Linked DNA regions of Homo sapiens: all the other regions are linked to region 2. Evidence: promoter capture Hi-C in 16 types of primary human blood cells and fetal thymus (Javierre and others, 2016). All regions are on one chromosome and are shown on one strand. The core of a region is centred on a gene start or on the middle of the fragment in contact, and the rest is flanking DNA. Distances in the headings are between cores, read along the strand shown. Region 1 overlaps TRIM38 (tripartite motif containing 38). Region 2 holds the start of C6orf62 (chromosome 6 open reading frame 62). Region 3 overlaps TRIM38 (tripartite motif containing 38).

Region 1 (3,455 bases), core at 226-2,725, 1.2 Mb before region 2:
GTATCTTTTGAACAATGGTATCATGAATCCAATTTAAAATGATTTAGTATTCATGTCAAGCTTTTAGCTTATTCTTCAAAACAGTTTCTCATATTTCTATTGAAAGTGATTTGAAGCTGACCCAAATTGCTAATTGTAGTCAATGCTGAAAGAATTGTCTCCTGTCCTCTGTAAACCCAACAAGTATACTCATTCATTCTCGAGTGTTCTCAGGAAAAGGTTCTATGTAACTGTTTTAGCAAAAGATGACATTGTCCTTACTATATGCCAAGTGCTATTCTATGCATTCTATATTTTAATGTCCTCAAAGCTTATAACCACCTCCTGTGTATGTGTTTTAGGGAGGGAGGACACTGCTATTATCCCCATTTACAGATGGAGAAACCAAGGTGTGAAGACATTAAGTAACGTGCCCAAAATTGCCCATCTAGTAAGTGACAAAACTCAATTTCAACATAAGCTGGTTCCTTTTCTTACTACTTGGTGGAAAAGTAATTCAAATGGGAATATGATCATCGCAGTTATTAGCTGCTCCATGGAGTTTAAGGAAGAGCTGCCATGAGCTGAGTGGTGGTCATGATTGACATGTCCTTAGAAGGACTTAGAGCCTTCATACAAGACCACCTCTGCCTCATGGAGGACAGAATAAGGAGCCTGACACTGGAGACAACATTTTCCTCAAATTTAGGCAGGACAGAGAAGGAAAAAGGACATCAGGACTATGCCCATTCCTCCATGCTGCCAACAGCAAAGTCCCACCTTCCTTAATATGCTTTCTGGCAAGAAATCTGGATGGTACACAAAACCTCTCCCTCTGCTTCACCTTCCACAACCAAGCATTTCCAAATCTTTGACTCTTCTTCCTGAATCGTGCTTAAAATCTGCCCTCTCCTCCCTTTCTTATACGGATAGTTTGAATTTTACTCCTTGATATTCCTTTTATCATAGACATGCCACAGTAGCTGGGCACAGTGGTTCATGCCTCTAATCCCAGCATTTTGGGAGGCTGAGATGGGAGGGAGACCAGGGGTTTGAGGCCAGTATAAGCAAGAAAGGCAGACCATGTCTCTACAAAAAATAAAAAAATTATCCAGGTATGGTGGGGCATCCCTGTAGTCCTAGCTACTTGGGAGGCTGAGGTGGGAGGATTGCTTGAGCCCCAGAAGGTTGAGGCTGCAGTGAGCCGAGATTGCACCATTGTACTCCAACCTGGGATACAGAGCAAGACCCTACCTCAGGAAAAAAAAAAAAAAAAAAAAAAAAAAGTAGAGGTACCAGAGTGATATTTTCAATGTCACTGACCCTTCATTCCCCAAATGAAAATCCCCCAATAGGTGTTCAATTTTTACGTGTCCTTCAGGAGTTACTTCTAAGATGAACCACTCTCTACCCTAAATGTCCCTCCCCACCACCAAAACCAGGGACCTCCAGGCAGACATTTTTGATGGTTTGTTTTCTTTACTAGACTGTAGATACCTAAAAGGTGATGGGTCTTTCTTCCCTGTTTTCAGGCCCTACTGCATGGCTTTACATATTGTGGTTTTTCAAATGATATTCATGGTGTGAAACAAGAAAAAATGCGGGTGTTTGGTTTGAGAACAACCTGTTCTAAAGCAAAAAGAAATTCATCATAACACAAATGGATAGAGATAAGAGTCCAACCATCCCATTGAAGGTCAGGATGGACAGTCTAGATAATTGAGCAAGAAATCATCATAAACTATTTTTCAGAAGAATGACATGATGAAAGCTGTATTTCCAAGTCATAATGTTAGGTTTCAAGTTAAATCATCTCAGCTCCTGGGGAGCAGGATAAGACTTGGTACTTACCAAAGCTCCCGGGCCCACACACTCACCTTGTAGCCCTGGCATACGTCTTCAACAAGAGCTGTGGTGTGCCCTTTGTGCTGTGGTGCCCGCTCACAGCGCCAGCAGATGAGCTGCCCCTCGTCTTCGCAGAACAGGTGGAACTGCTCTCCGTGTTCCTCACATGACATTTCTTGATCCGTCTCTTTGAGGGCTTCAATGAGGCTTCCCAGCTGCTTGTTGGGTCGGAGGCTATCCATATGAAATGGAGCCCGACACTGGGGACAGCAGAATGTCTCCTGCCTCAGTTGCTTTTGGCTTGGGTTTTTAAAGAAGTCTGTTATACACAAGTGGCAGTAGCTGTGTCCACAGTTGATGCTTACTGGGTTCGTCATCAGGCTCAGGCAGATGGAGCAGGTGGCTTCCTCCATCATCTTCTTGGTGCTGGTGGTTGAGGCCATAGCTTTTATTGAAAAGCTCCAATATTGGCTCTAGAGATGGAGATGAAGCAGCCAGAATTTTCCACCGTGATGAAAATACACCTCACCTGCACCTCTATGTGATGAGCTGGCTGCAACTGACTTCCATAGGTCTTGAAGGTTTTCCTTCCAACCCCTATTATCTCATTTTGTATTGAAGAAAAGAGGACCTAAAAGGAAGAAGTTGAGGCTGAGGTTGTTTGGGCCACGTTTGAGAACTGCAACCCAAGTGCAGAGTTTCAAGTTGCCCTCATTAGCAAGCAGTTACAAGTGGTTGTTTAGAGGAAAAAAAGCAGTTTTAAAGCAGTTTTAAAGTTGTTTGCCAAGAATTTACATTAAAATAGCATAAGCTTTTGACTGGCTATACATTGTTCTTTGTATTACAAATCTCGGGAATATGTAGGTAATAGATGAGGCAGCCAGTCAGGAACAAAATGCTTTTAAACATGGGGTCTTAACTGAAGACCTATACTCCTGCCTCACTTGTCCTGATAAATTTTGCATACCTCACATAGCTCAGACTGCTCTAAATTATTTCATTATTTTTCTTTTCTCAGTCTTCTAACTTTTTTTTTTTTTTTTAATGAGACGGAGTCTCACTCTGTCACCCAGGCTGGAGTGCAGTGACGCTATCTCGGCTCACTGCACCTCCGCCTCCCGGGTTCAAGCGATTCTCCTGCCTCAGCCTCCCGAGTAGTAGCTGGGTCTACAGGTGTGCACCACTACGCCCAGCTAATTTTTGTATTTTTAGTAGAGATGGGGTTTCACCATGTTGGTTGGCTCGATCTCTTGACCTTGTGATCCACCCGCCTCAGCCTCCCAAAGTGCCAGGATTACAGGCATGAGCCACCGTGCCCAGCCTCTTTTTCTTTTCTTATAAGACAAGTTCTCGCTCTCTTGCCCAGGCTGTAGTGGAGGGCAGTGGCATGACCACAGCTCACTGCAGCCTCGACCTCCTGGGTTTAAGCAATCCTCCTGCCTCACCCTGGCAGAGTGGCTGGGACTACAGGTATGTGCCACCATGTCCAGCTAAAGTCTTCTCTCCAGAAAGAAGAAATGCATTGGAATTTAGAGGATACACAAACATCTAGCTGTATAGCTAATACAGTAGCCACTATCATGAGTAGGAATTTAAATTTAACTTAATAAAAATTAAAATGAAAAAATTCA
Region 2 (3,446 bases), core at 267-2,766:
TAGGGGGAAGAAAGACTCAAGAGCAGATGCTTGAACTGAAATAACTTTATTTTGGGGGGTTACTTTGCTGACCCTTAGCGCAGGGCTTCCTTTCCCTTCCCCCTCCGCCGCCAGTACCAATCCAACTCCCCATCTTTCTCTTTGTTTTTCCTCTTTTTCTTTTTCTCTCCCTGTTGCCGCTGTCTCCGCGTCCTTCCCCTCCGTTGCCGCCCAGGGCGCCGAGCCAGACTATGGGTCCCAGGTGGGGGCTGAGCGGCGGCAGCAGCGCGGGCGGTCCAGTCACGGTGCGCACTGCAGCGGGGATGGAGGGGCTCAGTTGGCTGGTGGTTTTCTCTTGACATGGCTCCTGCCCGTGCTACCAGCAGCGCCCCCGCCGCCGCCGCCTCTTCCGCCGCCGCCACCGCTCCGCCCGCAGGCTGCGGCTAGAGGGCCCAAACCCCGCCCTAGAGTCGGTCCGTGAGTCCCGGGCTCCGCGGGGACAGGGAGGGGATTTCCCCGTCACCCACCCCGCCCTAGCTGCCTCAATTCCACCCCCTGCCCCTCGGGAAACAACTAACGACCCCACCCTAAACAATCCAAACTCTGGAAACATGGTCTGTTCAACGTGAGAGAGAGCTAATCCGGGAACTTAATTTTTTGGGGGGAGGGTGGGTGGGCTTACTTTAGAAGTAATATTAACACAATTATTTTCTTTTTTTCCCCCACTGAACCTTCCCATTTACCCTCTCCCGCCCACTCCACCCGGGCGGGAATTGTTTCCACGATGAAATGAGTGAAAACCTGAGTGATCCTGTGTCTCCCGTGGTGCGAGTGAGTCGCTGCCGCTGAAGGCAAGGGGTGGGGGTGGGACCTGCGGGGGTGGAAGGCAGGTGGTCTCCGGGCACCGCCTGGGATTTGGGAGAAGAACCCGCCACCTTTGCCTCGGCAATGCTCACAAGAAGATAAATCGCACTCCCCACCATTTTGAACGGGGGCAGATCCACAGGGAAGTCTCCCTTGGGGAATGTAGGACTAGTTGCAGGCTGGGGGTGTTGGGAACCCGGGCATTAATCAGGTCTAACCACAGAGCCGGAATAATTAATACCGTATTATATACCCCTTTTCCTTCTGCCGTCATGATTCTCCTTGGCAGCAGCGTTAGCAGCCGCCTGAGGGTGAAAATGTGGGTGATGGGGAAGTTGGTAATGACTCCGCTGTTTTTTCTCATGGCTCCTTTGGGCCACAGCTGCCCGCCCCCGGTATACACTGTAGTTGATTGCAGGGAAACCCTGTACCTCTCCCTTTCCTTCTCTACCGATTTTGCACTTTTCTCTATGCTCACCACCAAGTGTAATCAATAACAAGCACTGACAATACATAGCAATAGTGAAATCTGAAATAACTAAGAATTAGGTACTACAGCCATGGAGCTGGCTGGGTAAAATCTAATTGGATATTTCAGTTTCATTCACCTACCCTGTTTTGGTGTTTGGTTTTGGTTTTGGTTTTGGTGAGTTTTTTTTTTTTTTTTTTTTGGAAAGCAAGGATCACACTTCCCCCTCCCTGTTCCTTAATCCCTTTTCTAAAAAGGGGGGAAAATCCGGATGGATTTTAGGGATTGGTCTGGTGTCAGCTGTGTTTTATTGCACACCTAAATCCTGATTATAGGCTTTTCATTTCTCCGCAAAGCCTTTATTTTGGCAGTTAAGCCAAATGTGTTTTCCAGAAAGTTAGTTATTTTCTCCTCTTTCTTTCCTTTCTTTCCTCCCTTTTTCCCGTCTGACCCCAAACGTTATTGTCCAAACATGACTGGACAGCAGCTTTTGTTTCTTGACCCTGTAATATGACAGTCTGCTAATATTGACAGAAGGTGCAGTTTTTGGGTTATAGTCGTGATTTTCGCTAATCAATCATATTAGCAGGAAAAAAAATGACTTGTTTCTGTTGTACTTGAGTCTTAAGAAAAAGTGCCCATAGTTTAGTGACAATTTCCAAAGGCTTTAGTACCACCTGTATTTCAAAATGGGGGACCCAAACTCCCGGAAGAAACAAGCTCTGAACAGACTACGTGCTCAGCTTAGAAAGAAAAAAGAATCTCTAGCTGACCAGTTTGACTTCAAGATGTATATTGCCTTTGTATTCAAGGAGAAGGTAATTTAAAGTTCTTAATGGTGAATTAGCACAAGTAATTTTTGTAAGTGTATATTATTTGTTACTCTTAAATTATTATGAATATTAGGTTAAAGAGTGGTTGAAAAAAAGTCTGCTTTGTATGCTCTGTTTTTTCACCCTTAGGGGTGATTCTGTGAATTGAGCAGTTGCAGCATGCGAAAAGACCCTTGAGCGTTCTTTGGTTTGGAAATAAATTTGAGTCTGAAGCTTAGTAGTAGTATACACTGAGTTGACATGGGGTGGGCAAGATTACAAAATTTTATATGGAGTTAACATGGGAAACCTTATGATGGAATTTAAAGATTATCTAATGTAGAGTATAAATAAGATGGTTGAAAGTGTGAAATTGTAATCAGACTGTTTATATGCTAAAGTTTATCCTGTTTCTTAAACTGCGTAATGTAGGTAACCTTTTCTCTTACATTTAATGAAGTAGAATACACCTTTTAGGAGCAATTAAATACTGAAATGGTTAATTTGTGTTTAGAAGTGTGATTTTCTTTTTTACTTAGAGTTCATTTTGCCTTGTATAGAAGTACAGTTTTTAAAAACTCAAAATGACCTAGAGGAAGTTTCATTTTTAGGGGCGGTGGAGGTCTTAATCAGAATTAGTTCCGCAGTTAAATAGCAAACAGTAAGTTGTGAGTAGTCAAGGATGGGATGATAAGAGCAGTATTTTTTGCAACTTAAAATGAACATTTTCTTAAATTATCAGCAAGGCTTATTTGACCAAAGATGAGGTTATGAATGTAAGGAAGTGCTACTTGGATTTTGGTGCTTAAATTGTTAGCTAATTTCAGATCAGAAATACAATCTTAGTGTGGTATCTATTAAGTATCTGGAAGTTTTCCAGGTTTCCCCCTACTGTTTAACTCTTATTATTTTTGTTGCTGAGACAGGCCTCACTGTATTGCCCAGGCTAGTCTTGAACTCCTGGGCTAAAGTGATCCTCCTGTCATGGCATTTTAAAGTGCTGGGATTACAGGCAGGAGCTGCCACGCACAGCCCCAACTCTTAACTCCTAAAAGGTTATTTGTATTTAAGAACATTCTTAGCTGCTGAAGTATAGCATTGTGAAGTGATTTTTAAGTAATTTTTGAAGTGACTGTCCCAAGATTGGGTGGTATCAAGGACTTACATCTCCACTTTTGTTTTGTTGACAAGCTGACTCAAAATTGATGAGATTGGATTTTAGTTGAAGATGATACAGTGTATGCTCTTTAAATAAATCCAAGATAATAAGTAGTGAGACCATATCTTTGTATTTAATCTATATATTGCCCCAAATTGCACCA
Region 3 (3,935 bases), core at 221-2,720, 1.3 Mb before region 2:
CATGCCCAGCTAATTTCTTTTCTTTTAGAGATGGGAGCCTTGCCCAGGCTAGTCTCAAACTCCTAGCCTCAAGTGATCCTCCCATCTCAGCCTCCCAAAGTGACAGGATTACAGGTGTGAGCCACCATGCCTGGCTGCTCTGTAAGTGTCTGAATTTCATTTTGTATTTATCAGTCTGTTTAGATTTTCTTTCCCTTCTTGGGTCAGTTAGGCCATTGGTTTCTTTTTAAAGGTTTTCAAATTTATTTGCATCTAATTCTTCAAATTACTCTCAAAATTATTCCAGTATATATTCTTTTGTTCCTATTTTCTTCTGTATTCTTTATTAAAATAGCTAATGATTTATCTAGCAGGACTTATATTCTTTCCATAACTTTCCTGCACCCCAATTAATCTCCAATTTTATATTTCTTCTGGCCTTCCTTATAGTTTCCACAGGTTTATTTTATTCATTTTTTAAAACTTTTATTTAATTGTTTATTTTATTATCATTCTTTCTTATTCAGCAATCTAAGTGCTTAGGGATATAGAATTTCCTCTAAGCAGCATATGCTAGGCTTTAACAATGTTAGGGAGGCCTCCCCTTTCTGGGGAAGACCACACTTACATTAACACAGGACTGTGGGATGCCAAGAGGTAGAGAAGAGCTTATGAATATCCAGATTACATCTTCACTGATCCTGCACAAAGGTGGGGTTCCTCGGTTACCCACTGGGTCCTATTACCCAAGTCTGGGTCAGCATACCGAGACTACGGGTATATAGAACAAGTGCAACTGGCGATAATCCTTCTGTTGGGGAGAAAAATCTTTTTTTTCTATTCATCTTAGGTTCTCCATCTGTGGCCCTATCAAGTAGACTAACAAAAGACAGATTGACAAGACAGAAACAAAGCATGTGCATTGTACAAACACAGGGGAGTACTGAGATGAATACTCAAAAGAGGATTTAGAACTTGGGCTTATATAGCATTTTAAGAAAAGAATACATTTTTTAAGTGACAAGGAAGACGAAAAGGACTTTGAGTTTCTAGTGCAGTAAATTGTGGGAAGGCAACTTTTTCTTTCCCTTTTTTTTTTTTTTTTTTTAAAAAAAAAGACTTCTCTGGTGCTATGTCCAGGCTGATAAGAGTCTAAAGTCTCTGGTGACTAACTTTTGTTCTTCCCCGAGTAAGAAGACACCTTCACAATTTCATATCCTGCTTTTAGGCAAATAGGGAGAGGGCAGAGGTGTTTGTTTGTTTTTAATCTATTTTTTTTCTCAATTGTCTTCAACTCAAAATACTTCTTATGCCAAAGATGGCATATTCTGCTACCCTTCACTTACTACTTACAACCCAGCCTCTATCATCATAATTAGAACTTCTGACCCTGGGGAACATGGGCAATAGTTTGAACTCTTTTATATCTCCCTTAGGCAGAGATGGAGGCCCAGCCATGCCTCTGACATCTAGACACAACTGTTGCTTCATTTCTCCTATTCTCAGAGGTGATGTTGTAGGACTTCAACAAATATCAGTAAACATTAATTTTTTTTTTCCTTGAGGCACAGCATGATCTTGGCTTACTGCAGCTGCTGCAGGCTCAAGCAATTCTCCTGCCTTGGCCTCACGAGTAGCTGGGTTACAGGCCCCTACCACCATGCCCGGCTAATTTTTGTATTTTTAGTAGAGACAGGGTTTCACCATGTTGGCCAGGCTGGTGTTGAACTCCTGACCTCAAGTGATCCACCTGCCTCAGCCTCACATAGTTCTGGGATTACAGGCGTGAGCCACCATGCCTGGCCATCAATTTTTATGTCAACTCTAAATTATAACATTTAGCAATTTTGTGACTTTTTATGGTCATCATTAATGTTGTTTATGTTTTAGTTGTAGTCCTGTCATTACTCACTCGGGTATGGTAATTTGGTCTTTTTCAAAATGAAGTTAAGGTCTATTTGCTCTTCTCTGAATCATAATAAGAACTGCCAACAGCCATTTCAGCAATAACTATTTACTGAGATTTTAAAATATTTCAAGGTAATTGGTCCTAGCAGACTGGAAAATACCAAATTCTTTTCCAGAACTGAATCCCCCATCAAAGTTCAATTTTACTCATAATTCCCTTTTCATTTGAAGCATCTCATTGTAAGCCAGTCTTAACCCTTCTCTCACACTTTGCTTGGCTGTTTCTCAGGTAGAACTCAGTAAGTCTGGTAGCCTCCAGGACTGCCGCTTAGATTATTAAACAACATGTCAGTGGTTGGAAGAGTCAATGTTATTTTGATTTTTCTGTTTTGTTTTGTTTTAAATGCAGTTGGCGGATAATTGCAGCTTTCTTTCATTCCCTACATGAGTTCAAATGGCAGCAAACAAACTAGGAGAACGCAGACCTTCTGACTTGTGGGTACCCCTACTCATCACCTGAAGACCCTTGGAAATCAAAGCCCTGACCCATTAAAGACGGATGGAGACAGCAACATACGATCATCACTATTATCTTGCTTTGCCCCAGTCCAGGTTAACCATCTGTGGTATTTTTAGTTGCTAAGTCCATATATTCAACATAAATCAATTATATATCCACTAAAATCTCAGCACTAGTCTAACTACTAAGGAAATGACAGCGAAGAAAACAGACCAAACGTCTGCCCTTATGGGATTTATATTATTTTCTCTGTGCTGGTTAAACCAAGGAGCTTCTGCTCTTTTCCTTAGTCACCTGGGGGAGGCAGAAACAAAGGAGAATATTGATAAACCTGGAAATAGGGCCGGAGAGTATCAGAGAAGGAAGCCTTCGGGAAAGTAAAGATGTGGCAGCCAGTATTCCCGTTATAAAAGGATACAACTCCGGCCTCATAGTCCAGAAAAATTCCCACAAGCAGGGGCTGCTCATGCAGATGAAGGGAAGTTGGGGGAGAAGTAAGTGCTACATAGCCTTTCTTTTTGCACAGCCTGAGGGTCCAGAATCCAGACTGAGGCTCTTGCTTCATGCCAGTGCCCCTCTGCACATTTTCCATACAAACTCCTAAATCCCATCCGGTTCCTTCGCCAACATCCACTTCAAAGTAACGTCTTCCTGAGGTGAAGCCTTCACAACCCAAGACACAGGGGAAGGCAGTAAATCTCCTGGAAGATGTGTCCTGATTCTCCTGGGTGTATCCACGAGTCACTTGTCTCCGATCCTCAGAGAGAATTAGTTCGTGATGAGCTGTATCTGGATCCAGAGTCACACTAACTGCAAAACAAAACAAAACAAACAAAAATAATTTTGTTGCTGTGAAGAACACAGGTTATTTTATTTTATTTTATTTTGAGATGGAGTGTTGCTGTCACCCAGGCTGGAGTGCACTGGCACTATCTCAACTCACTGCAACCTCCACCTCCTGGATTCAGGCAATTCTCCTGCCTCAGCCTCCGGAGTAACTGCGACTACAGGTGCGCACCACCACAAGTGGCTAATTTTTTTAAATTTTCTGTAGAGATGGGGTTTCGCCATGTTGGCCAGGCTGGTCTCAAACTCCTGACCTGAAGTGTTCCACCCACCTCGGCCTCCCAAAGTGCTGGATTACACAGGTGTGAGCCACCATGCCCAGCCACAAGTTATTTTCAATAAAACCAGCCTGTGTTCAAACCCAACTATTGTTTCTTATAAACTGGGTGAGCTTAGGCAAATCATTTAACTTTCTGAGCCTCAGTTTGTTAACTATAAAGTGGAAATTACCGTATTTGTTGCAGAGAATGGTGGGTAGGATTGAATAAGCTTATGTTTGCTTAATGCTTGGTAAAATTCCTGGTACATGGTAACCACCTAATAAGTGGTAGTTGTTGGGGTGATCAGGCCCAACACCAGGCCGTGGGGGCTACAAAGTCCGGCGGGGTCAAAGGAATGAGAAAAGACAAGTTAAGAGTGCATAAAGTGGGTCCAGGGTGCCAGCACTAGATTGGAGGCTGCA

What was found. Contacts are between HindIII fragments. The CHiCAGO score rates a contact against its expected background, and 5 or more counts as called.
Region 1: a contact is called between a fragment that was not itself captured here and the fragment with the promoter of C6orf62 in region 2, in 2 of 17 cell types (total B cells and non-activated CD4 T cells). The highest score is 8.6, in total B cells.
Region 3: a contact is called between a fragment that was not itself captured here and the fragment with the promoter of C6orf62 in region 2, in 1 of 17 cell types (endothelial precursors). The highest score is 6.2, in endothelial precursors.

The regions. Positions count from the first base shown.
Region 1 is chr6:25,965,335-25,968,789 of GRCh38, reverse strand. TRIM38 (tripartite motif containing 38) reads right to left here. Exons shown (of 8, transcript NM_006355.5): 3 at 1,857-2,455. The coding sequence starts at 2,267. Among named protein-coding and RNA genes, the nearest start is that of TRIM38, 4.3 kb to the right of the region's middle. The HindIII fragment of the contact is 2,325 bases long and covers 313-2,637 here.
Region 2 is chr6:24,717,224-24,720,669 of GRCh38, reverse strand. C6orf62 (chromosome 6 open reading frame 62) reads left to right here and starts at 1,516. Exons shown (of 5, transcript NM_030939.5): 1 at 1,516-2,130. The coding sequence starts at 2,002. RefSeq lists a silencer at 303-472 and an enhancer at 42-835. The HindIII fragment of the contact is 3,349 bases long and covers 1-2,360 here.
Region 3 is chr6:25,982,446-25,986,380 of GRCh38, reverse strand. It overlaps TRIM38 (tripartite motif containing 38), which reads right to left. Exons shown (of 8, transcript NM_006355.5): 8 at 1-3,217. The coding sequence ends at 2,694. Among named protein-coding and RNA genes, the nearest start is that of LINC02980, 8.3 kb to the left of the region's middle. The HindIII fragment of the contact is 4,548 bases long and covers 1-3,744 here.